Linked DNA regions of Homo sapiens: region 1 is linked to region 2. The links are contacts of gene promoters, found by promoter capture Hi-C in human tissues and cell types (Jung and others, 2019). All regions are on one chromosome and are shown on one strand. The core of a region is centred on a gene start or on the middle of the fragment in contact, and the rest is flanking DNA. Distances in the headings are between cores, read along the strand shown. Region 1 overlaps LOC124900647 (nascent polypeptide-associated complex subunit alpha, muscle-specific form-like). Region 2 holds the start of SLBP (stem-loop histone mRNA binding protein).

Evidence for each region. Contacts are between HindIII fragments. The study calls those that stand out against the background at their distance.
Region 1: a contact is called between a fragment that was not itself captured here and the fragment with the promoter of SLBP in region 2, in 1 of the 25 tissues and cell types used here (dorsolateral prefrontal cortex).

The regions. Positions count from the first base shown.
Region 1 is chr4:1,157,894-1,163,426 of GRCh38, reverse strand. The region is part of intron 1 of LOC124900647 (nascent polypeptide-associated complex subunit alpha, muscle-specific form-like); the gene reads right to left. Among named protein-coding and RNA genes, the nearest start is that of SPON2, 12 kb to the left of the region's middle. RefSeq lists an enhancer at 1-4. The HindIII fragment of the contact is 5,549 bases long and covers 1-4,024 here.
Region 2 is chr4:1,710,513-1,715,964 of GRCh38, reverse strand. SLBP (stem-loop histone mRNA binding protein) reads left to right here and starts at 3,646. Exons shown (of 8, transcript NM_006527.4): 1 at 3,646-3,835; 2 at 3,975-4,091. The coding sequence starts at 3,777. It overlaps TMEM129 (transmembrane protein 129, E3 ubiquitin ligase), which reads left to right. Exons shown (of 4, transcript NM_001127266.2): 4 at 1-13. RefSeq lists enhancers at 121-220, 531-600, 721-830, 2,810-3,099 and silencers at 3,230-4,139, 4,150-4,269. The HindIII fragment of the contact is 8,102 bases long and covers 2,418-5,452 here.

The DNA of each region.
Region 1 (5,533 bases), core at 1-2,500, 550 kb after region 2:
AATTAGAAGCTGTCTCCAGAAACAGAAAGCATAATGTATTCCAAAGAGGAGAAGTGAAAGCAGTCCACGCCCACACACAGTATATTGAAACTGGTGAACACTAAACACAAAGAACGAACCTTCAGGCTGGGCGCGGTGGCTCACGCCTGTAATCCCAGCACTTTGGGAGGCCGAGGCAGGCGGATCACGAGGTCAGGAGATCGAGACCATCCTGGCTAACACGACGAAACCCTGTCTCTACTAAAAATACAAAAAAAATTAGCTGGGCGCGGTGGCGGGCACCTGTAGTCCCAGCTACTTGGGAGGCTGAGGCAGGAGAATGGCATGAACCCCAGAGGCAGAGCTTGCAGTGAGCCAAGATTGCGCCATTGCACTCCAGCCTGGGAGACAGTGAGACTCCATCTCAAAAAAAAAAAAACAAAAAACAAAAAAAAAAAACAAGAAAAAACCTTCAAAGGACCCAGAGGAATGTACAGATTGCTTATGAAGGAACATCTATTGAATGACAGCTACTTCCTAACAGCCCAAAGGGAGTCAGAAGGCAGTCAGATAATAACTTTTGAAATGTTGAGAGAAATTAACTGTCAACCCACAGCTGGGAACTCAGCAACACCTTTTAAGAATGAGAGCAAAATGCAGACATTTTCAGATTAACAGAAACTGAAGAATCTTAATACCAAGATAATTACCCTGAAAAACTTCTAAAGGATGTTGTTCAGGGTGGAGGAAAATTATCCCAAAAGGATGGTCTGAGATTTGAGGAATGGTAATACAAATTATTTTAAATCTCTCCAATAACAAAAGTATAAATTCCCCAAAGATGGAGAAAAAAATAACAGCAAAATTAGAGAAGCTGAAAAGCAGCGGTAAAGTGAGAGCTGATCAGCAGGGCCGAGGAAAACAAATCCTAAGCTGGAAGTTCAGGTTCACAAATTCAAATAACTGGCCGGCCACGGTGGCTCACACCTGTAATCCCAGCACTTTGGGAGGCTGAGATGGGTGGATCACTTGAGGTCAGGAGTTTGAGACCAGCCTGGCCAACATGGTGAAACCCCATCTGTACTAAAAATACAAAATTAGCCGGGAGTGGTGGCAGATGCCTGTAATCCCAGCTACTCAGGAGGCTGAGGCAGGAGAATTGCTTGAACCCAGGAAGCAGAGGTTGCAGTGAGCCGAGATTGCACCATTGCACTCCACCCTGGGCGATACAGACTCCTTCTCAAAAAAACAAAAACCCCCAAAAAACAAACACCCAAATTCAAATAACTGGGCAAATTTTTAACCACAGAATGTTTAAAAGCACAGGGAATTGTCAGTTCCAAATACATTTATTACTAGATTCTATAATGTCATAGTATAATTTTGGTATAGGATAATGCTGACCTCATAAAATGAATCCAAGTGCTCTCTTCTCTGACTTTGTGAAAAATGGATATTAACTTTTTCATAAACGTTTTATAGAATATTTCACAGAATTCACCAGTGAGGCCATTGGGCCTAGAATTTTCTTTGTGGGAGGAGTTTTTAATTACAAATAAAATTTATTTATTCGATTCTTTATTAGATTGATTAGGCTATTAAAAATATTTTTTCTTGTGAAAGTTTTTGTAATTTGTGCTTTTGAAGAATTTGTCAATTTCATCTAAATTGTCAAATGTATTGGCACAACTCATTCACAAAATTCTTTTAGACAGGGTATCCCTCTGTCGTCAGGCTGGAGTGCAGTGACACAGTCACTGCTTACTGCAGTCTCAGCCTTCTAGGTTCAAGCCATCCTCCCACCTTAGCCTCCTGAGTAGCTGGGACTACAGGTACCCCCCCACCACACCCAGCTGATTTTTATTGTTTTGTAGCAACAAGGTCTCACTATGATGTCCAGGCTGGTCTTAAACTCCTCAAGTCATATCCATCTTCCTTAGTCTCCCGAAATGCTGGGATTACAGACATGAGCTACCACACTGGCCCATAAAATTTCTTTATTACCCTCTTATTATCTGTAGAATTTATAACGATATCCCCTTTCATTCTGATATTGGTAACTTGTGGTTTTTCTCCTTCTCCCCTGATCAGACTTACCAATTTTATTGATCTTTCAAAGAACGAGTTTTAGTTTCATTAGCTTTCTCTAGTGTTTGTTCATTTTGTTTCAATGATTTCCACACTTTACTTTTACTTTTTCTTCCATCAATCTTTAATGTTTCCTTCCTTCTTACTTTAGGTTTAATTTGCTTTTCTTTTTGTAGTTTATTAAGGTAGAAGTTTAGGTCATGGATTTTAAACTTTTCTTCTTTTCTAATACAAGCATTTTTTTTTTTTTTTTTTGAGACAGAGTCTCACTCTGTCACCCAGGTTGGAGTGCGGTGGCGTGATCTCAGCTCACTGCAACCTCCGCCTCCTGGGTTCAAGCAATTCTCCTATCTCAGCCTCCCAAGTAACTGGGACTACAGGCACATGTCATCATGCCTGGCTAATTTTTAAATTTTTAAAATAGAGATATGATCTTACTATGTTGCCCAGGCTGGTCTCAAACTCAATACAGGTATTTAAAGGCATAAATTTCCCTTTATAAATTGCTTTAGCCGCATACCACAAAAGAAATATATTTTCATTGCAATTCAATTAAAATACTTCCTATCTTCCCTGTGACATCTTCTCTGATACATGGTTTATTTAAAACTGTGTTTAATATCTAAATATTTGCAGTTTCTCATATAAGTTTTATTACTGATTTCTAATTCAATTAAGTTATGGTCAGGAACATATTGTATGATTTCAATCCTTGTAAATTTATTGATACTATTTTATAGCCCCAAGTAAGACCTATCTTGGCAAATATTCCCTGTGCATCCTGTCATGCCTGAGTGTGGTGTTTCACTAATGTTAGTTTGCTCAAGTTGGGTCACATTGGTTGATGGCATCGTTCAGGTCTTCACTAATCCTACTGACTTCCCTTTATTTGTTATATTACTAATAGAGGATTGTTGACATCTCCAACTATAATTATAGATGTATCTCTTTCTCCTTCAATTCTGGCAATTTTTGTTTCATAAAATTTGGAAGCTTTATTATTAGGTACATATATATTTAAGATAGTTCCCATTTATCATTATGAAATGCTCCTTTATCTCCAGTAATCTCCTTTTATTTAAAAATCTATCTTGCCTGATATTAATATTGGCACTCCTACTTCTTGGATTAGAGTTTGCATGGAATATCTTTTTAAAAGCCAGTTTCTTGTAGACATTACTTATTTGAGTCTTGCTTCTTTACTGGTCTGATAATCTCTGCCTTTATGTCATTTACATCGAATGGACTTAATTGATATCATCAGATTTAAATCTACCAATTTCATTTTTATTTTGTCTCATCTGTTCTTTCTTTTCTTGCATATAATTTTATTTTTGAGCCATGTAAATATTTTACATAATCAAAAATAAAAATAGTGAACTTTAAAGAGGCAAAATGACTAAACTGCAAATATTGAAAACAAACTGACACAAATGAAATATACTTTATATGAAAATAATTACTTCAATAACTTTAAATGGTGTTTTTGTGCGTATGTCCCCGGGAAAAGACGAAAGAGAATGGCAAAGAAATCTTAGATGGCATTTCGTAGTCTTTTTGATAGCAGCAAATGTTGGTGTGGCTCTTTGGAAATTCTTGTGGACACCCCCACTTTACTGCACTTTGCTTCACTGTGCTTTGCAGATACTGTGCTTTTTACAAATGGAAGGTTTGAGGCAACCTTGAATTGAGCAAGTCTGTCAGCGCCATTTTCCAACAGCATGTGCTCACTTCATGTCTCTGTGTCACTTTTTGGTAACTGCCACAATATTTCAGTGTATTTTATCATTATTATATCTGTTATAACGATCTGTGTTCAGTGATCTTTGTTGTTACTGCTGAAATTGTTTTAGGACGTCACCAACTATACCCACGTAAGATGGCAAATGTAGTAGATAAATGTTGTGTGTGGTCTGACTGCTCCAATGACTGTCCATTGCCTCATTTCTCTCTCTCTCCTCAAGTCTCCCTATTTCCTGAGATATACTAATATGAAATTAGGCCAACAAGTAACCCTGCAGTGGCCTCTAAGTGTTCAAGTGAAAGGAGGAGCCATCATCTCTCTCTTGCAATCAAAGGCTAGAAATGATTAACATAAAGCTGAGATAGGCTGAAAGCTAGGCCTCTTGTGCCAAACAGTCAGCCAAGTTGTGAATACAAAGAAAAAAGTATTGTTATTTTTTGAGACAGGGTTTTGCTCTGTCACCTAGGCTGGAGTGCAGTGGCATGATCATAGCTCGCTGTAACCTTGAACTCTTGGGCTCAAGGGATCCTCCTGCCTTAGCCTCCAAACTAGCTAGGACTACAGGCATGTGCCCAGCTAATTTTTTTTTTATGTATTTTTTTGTCGAGACAAGGTTTTGCTATGTTGCTCAGGCTGGTCTCAAACTCCTGGCCTCAAGCAATCCTCCTGCCTCAGTCTCAAAGTGTTGGGATTATAGACATGAGCCACTGTGCCCAGCCAAGAAAAGTTCTTGAAGGAAATTAAGAGTGCCACTCCAGTAAACACACAAATGATAAAGTGAAACAGCCTTATTGCTGATATGGAGAAAGTTTGAGTGGTCTAGATAGAAGATCAAACCGGACACAACCTTCCCTTAAGCTAAAGCCTAATCCAGAGCAAGGCTTTCTCTTCAGTTCTATGAAGGCTAAGAGAGGTAAGGGAGCTGCAGAAGAAAAGTTTGAAACTAGCAGAGGTTGGTTCATGAGGTTTAAGGGAAAAAAAAAACAGAACAAGGTGAAGCAGCAAGTGCTGATGTAGAAGCTGCAGCAAGTCACCCAGAAGATGTAGCTGAGATCATTGATGAAGACGGCTACACTAAACAGTGGATTTCAAATGTAGACAAAACAGTCTTCTATTGGAAGAAGATGCCATCTAGAACTTTCATAGCTAGAGAGAAGCCAGTGTCTGGCTTCAAAGCTTCAAACGACAAGCTAACTCTCTCATTAGGGGTAATGCAGCTGGTGACTTAAAGTTGACTCCAATCCTCATTGACCATTCTGAAAATCTTAGGGCCCTTAATAATTATGCTAAACCTCCTCCACTTATGCTCTATACATGGAACAACATGGCCTGGATGACAGCCATCTGTTTACAGCATGGCTAACTGAATATTTTAAGCCTACTTTTGAGACCTACTGCTCAGAAAAAAAAAAAAGATTATTTCAAAGTATTACTATGCATTGACAATATTGACAATGCAGCTGGTCACCCAAGAGCTCTGATGAAAATGTATAAGGAGATTACTGTTGTTTTCATGCCTGCTAACACAACATCCATTCTGCAGCCCATGGATCAAGGAGAAATTTCAATTATCAAGTCTTACTATTTGAGAAATACATCTTGTAAAGCTATAGCTGCCACAGATAGGGATTCCTCTCATGAATCTGGACGAGTAAATTGAAAACCTTCTGGAAAGGATTCACTATTCCAGATGCCATTCAAAACACTGATGATTCATGGGAG
Region 2 (5,452 bases), core at 2,397-4,896:
TAGTCTGAAGTGATGTACTGTGTTTTGTGTTGCCCGATATTAAAACCAAACTTTTGTCATAGTTGGAGAATGGCCTGTGGGTATTGGAGAAGCCACCTTAGAGGTGGAATTGCGTGCGTGGCGTGCTTTGTTCAGAATAAGGAGGAAAAACCCATTGGTTGGGAGGCGGGTACAGTAGGAACCTTCCCCTCTGATTTCTGGTTAGGGACTCTGGGGTCTTGAGAACCCCTGACCCAGGGCCCTCTGCAGGAGCAGGGTGGGAGGGGCAGAGACACGTCCTGGGGGAAGTCACTGTGTGGTCGCCACTGCGGCTGCTTCCAGATGCAGGAACTGATGTGGGGACACATGGGTAGCCAAGGAGTGAGCAGCCTTTCCGGTTCACTTATGTTTGCAGCTGCGTCCTGTGAGGACACCAGGCTGTCTCTACTGACCTCACTGTGGGTCAGGGTGGCCCAGGAATTGCCAGCCGAGCACCTAGGGCAGCCAAGACAGCAGCCTGGGGTTCCCCACAGCACTGGGCCCTCAGGTGAGCACCCCAGCAACCGGACAGTGAGTGCTTGCTGCCTTTTCCCCATTCTGCTTCTTGACCCACAGGATGGTTCTTGGGGAAACAGTACACGTAATCCTATTGAAAGATATGACAGTGGGCTCTAGTTTCCTGCGCTACGAGTGTCTTCAGATTCTTTCCAGCCTGGTACTTTCACTGGCATTCTTTTGCATACACAGCCAGGCGCTGCTTTAACCAACAACAGAGATCCAGTGAGCATCTACTGAGGGGCTGTTATGGGCCCTGACTGTGCCAGGCCCTGTGACTCACAGGTACTTGGGACTCTTTGGCTCTGTACTGTTAACTTAGAGAAGAGTTTATTTCTTCTAAAAAGTTACAGCCTGACGAGAATCGCTTGAACCTGGATAGCAGAGATTGCAGTGAGCCGAGATCGCGTCACTACACTCCAGCCTGGGCGACAGAGTGAGACTGTCTCAAAATAAAAATAGTTAACAGCCTGCAAGATGGCCATCCCTCAGACTGGAAAGCACAGCCTCTGGCCAAGACCAGAGATGGGCACTTCAGAGGAGGAGGAGGAGGGGTTGGGGCAGGAGGTTTATGCTGAATGGGTTGGCTAAACATGCATATTCAGCAGGTGACAGGAGGAGCTATGAATATTCATGAAGGCAGTCCTGACGCATGCATCCTGAACAAACATACAATCCACATTCACTTTGGGGTGGAGACTTAACATTTAAAATGTATTATAATGAGGTTCTACACAGGCCAGAAGTGGTCCATCACTGTGGTCTCTTATCTGGACCAAGTTACTGAAATCAGTCTCTTGTCCAATGAAACTGTAGTTATGGCTGGTGGAATAGGGGCTGGGGGATCAGTCAGCATCCGGTGGAACTGCAAATTGGTTTTTATTGTTTTGAGACAGGGTCTTACTCTGTCGCCCAGGCTGGAGTGCAGTGGCGCCATCTGGGCTCACTGTAGCCTTGACCTCCCAGGTTCAAGGAATCCTCCCACTTCAGCTTCCGAGTAGCTGGGATCACAGGCACACACCACCATGGCCGGCTAATTTTTTTGATTTTTAGTAAAGATGAAGTCTTGCTATGTTGCCCAGGCTGGTCTCGAATTCCTGAGCTCAAGCGATCCTCCCACCTCAGCCTCCCAAAATGCTGGGATTACAGGTGTGAGCCACAGTGCCTAGCCTTTTTGTTTAAGTTTTTTGTAAAGATAGGGTCTCGCTGTTACCCAGGCTGGTCTTAAACTCTGGACCTGAAGCAATCCTTTTGGAGGCTTCAGCCTCCCAAAGTGTTGGGATCACAGGCATGAGCCATCATCTCGGCCACTGCACTGTTCCAATATTGCTTAGCTCAAGGCCAGTGCTTATTGAGCTACTAAGAGGAAAAGAAAAGCAGTGTGGCAGTAGGAATATAGTTTAAATGTAGGGTGTGTGACTTAACCCTTGCCTGGCATGACCTTAGGTCCTATTCATAATTTGGTATCTTATTGCCACTGGTGTCCCCTTGACCGCAAGGGGGTCCATTCAGTTGTTGGGGGCTTAGGATTTTAATTTTTTTTGAGACAGAGTTCTGCTCTTGTTGCCCAGGTTGGAGTACAGTGGTGCAATCTTAGCCCACTGCCTCCCGGGTTCAAACAATTCTCCTGCCTCAGCCACCCGAGTAGCTGGGATTACAAGCATGCGTCACCATGCCAGGCTAATTTTGTATTTTTAGTAGAGACAGGGTTTCTCCATGTTGGTCAGGCTAGTCTCGAACTCCCAACCTCAGATGATCCTCCCGCCTCGGCCTCCCAAAGTGTTGGAATTACAGGCATGAGCCACCGCGCCCTGCCAGGATTTTATTTTTAGTTTACAGTGTTGAGGGTTATGGGATGCCCAGGGCCTGGGGAGGAAGGGGACAGGATGTGTCCGTCCTAGTCTGAGGATGACTTTTTTGAGTTCAAAAGGGGGCGGTGGACGCACCAAGGCACAGTCCTGAGGGCAGCAGGTGCAAAAGTCCGGCCCTCCCAGAGGTGTAAGGCCTTAGAGGGATCCCAAGCATCCCTGGGGCTCAGCCTCCTGGACCTGACCCCACTGCCCACTCTTTTGGCTGGTTCCACTCTCCCCTGCATCCCTCACGTTGTCCCCAACAGGAAGCTGTGGGAACCTGTTCTCAGGTGTAGTGCACCCGTTGGGGTTCTAGTTGGCTGGATCCGCGGGGCCGTCAGCTGCAACTGTGACGGCGGGGAAGCGGGACGGGATGGTGCGGATCTACAGGACCTCGCCTCCAGGTGGAACCTACCTGCTGAGCCAGGGATTCTTCAGGATACAAACCCAGTCAACTCCAGGCAGAGGGTGGGAGCGTCATGCACCGGCGACACAGTGGAGGACGTCATGGACGGGCAGGGAGGCAGCGGCAACCGAAACTAGCGGCTCAGTCGGTGGCCGGTGTGCGGTCAACGGCCAGGGCAGTGGGACCGGAAAGACTCAGTGTAGTTGTCAACTGTTGCGACCTAAAAGGTTACTCCAAAACTTTAAGCGGCTCAAAACAATAGACGGCGCGTACGGGGCCTGCAGCGGCCACGGGACCGTGGGAAGCAGTCAGTACCCGCCACAGGCCGCGCCTTCCGGGTTCCGGGTTCCGGGTTCCCGCCAGGGAGGAGACACGCCCCCACCTGGGCAGGAACCAAGCAGAGCCGCGCTCCACCCAGGCCGGAACCAATGGGAGATGCGCCACGACCCAGGCCGAGAAACGTGCCGCTTACCCTTCCCCCACGACCTGCGCCGCGTCGCGCGCGGCCGAATCTCCCGCCAAAGCTGCCCCCGCCCGCCAAGGCGCGACCTATCAGCGTCGCAGAGGCCCGCGGCGGCCCGGCCGCCTCAATCCCGCGGGTGGGGGCAACCTTTTCCTCAGGCCTCTCCTCAGCCCACGGCGTCCATCTGGCTCCCGAGCCGAGGGCCGGGCAGTCGGGCTTCGCGGCTGCCCGCGGTCCCGAGGCCTCGCCCTAGCCCCAGTCGGCTCGCGAGGCGCGCACAGCTGAGTGGACCCCTGCGGCGTGGCCCGATGGTCTCGCCCGACCCGGCGCGCGCGGGAGGCCGAGGGGCGGGGCCCGGCGCCCACATAAAGGCGGTTGGGGGCGGGGCGCGCAGAGCTCGTGAGCGCCGGCGCGGGGACGCGGGTTTCTGCCTCAGGCCCTGCCCTGCTCTACTCTGCGCTCTCTGCCCGCGCCGCCGCCGCCTCAGCCTCGGCCCTGCGCTGCGCGCCCGGCCCGTGCTGCCATGGCCTGCCGCCCGCGAAGCCCGCCGAGGCATCAGAGCCGCTGCGACGGTGACGCCAGGTGAGGCCGGGCTGCGCGGCGGGCGAGGGAGCGCGTGCCCCGTGGGGCGGGGGTTGTGCGGGGCCGGGGTGTGGGAGGGCGGAGGTTGTAAGGCGGTCCCGAACCTCCCGTGCCCAGCCGACCGCGTCCCTCCCCGCAGCCCGCCGTCCCCCGCGCGATGGAGCCTGGGACGGAAGCGCAGAGCCGACGGCAGGCGCTGGAGGCCCGAAGACGCCGAGGAGGCAGAGCACCGCGGCGCCGAGCGCAGACCCGAGAGGTGGGCGCGGGACCCGGGGGTCGGGGCGCGGTGGGGCCCTTGACGAGGCCGCGGGCTCCAGGGACCTCGTCGCGCTCTCGCGGTGCCGGGATCGGTCAGGTCGGCACCCTGCGTCCTTTTATCTTGGTCTCCGCGCGGCCCGTGGACTGGGGCGGCCGCAGCAGGCCTGGGAGGCGCTGGAACACTCCGGAAGCCTCTTGCCAGGATGGGAGTCAGCTGAACCGGCGTCAGCCCGAGTTAGCCAGTTCGAGTCTGTGTTGTGCTCCCGGGAGAGGTCAGGGTCTCTGACGAGCTTCTCGTGAACACGTGGAAGTCAGGGACACCCGAGTCCCGAGGAGAAGTGAGTTGACAGGGCTTACCTGCTTGGCCATTTTCTGGGTTAGGCAGTGTGCAGGGAGGGTGGAGATGCGAGCGAAAGGAGGGCTTGATGGGGTGGGACGGCCGAGGAGGGTCTGGAGGAAATAAGCAGGGGTGCCAGTGGTCGTAGTGGCGGGGCTTTTCGGGGCTGTGGTTAGAGAAAACTTCTCGAGGGGCTTTGGGGTGGCTCGTCCCGCACTGGGGGCTTGTTGCTCCTGAGTTCCCTGAAAGGCGTGGTGACTTGGCCGAGATGGAGCAGTGAAGGTGGAGGGAAATGCGTGGTTCGGGATAGGCTTCTGAAGGCAGGACCTGTGAGACTTGCTGATGGGTTGGGGATGGGAGGCGTGAAAGGAAAAAAAAAAATCGGACCCAACTTCACTGTGCCAAAAGGAAAAAATTATGCTGAGCGCGGAATCATGCAAGAAACTACCTTTGCGTTACTTTTTTTTTTTTTTTTTTTTTTTTAAAGACAGGGTCTCACTCTGTCTCACAGGCTGGAGTGCGGTGACGCGATCTTGGCTCACTGCAGCCTCCCCCTCCCGGGTTCAAGTGATTCTCCTGCCTCAGCCTCCCCAGCAGCTAGGATTACAGGCGCATGCCACCGCGCCCGGCTAACTTTTTGTATTTGTAGTAGAGACAGGGTTTCACCATGTTGACCAGACTGGTGTCGAACTCCTGACCTCAAGTGATCCACCCACCTTGGCCACCCAAAGTGCTGGGATTACAGGTGTGAGCCACCGCGCCCGGCCACCTTTGTGTTTCTTTTTTTTTTTCTAAGCAGATACCTACAGATACAAGATTAAATATCTCCACGGGTGAACTCTGTTCACTTTAAGTGGCGACTTACTGAGCACACTAGGAATACATAATTGACTATTCCCCTACCTGCTCCTTTTCTCTTGGAACATGTAGATCTTTCTCCTTCAACCTACTTTTCTCTTTTAAATATTGAAGCCCTGACAGTCATCTCTGGAGAAAGGCACAGACCACAGACTCTTTCTGTA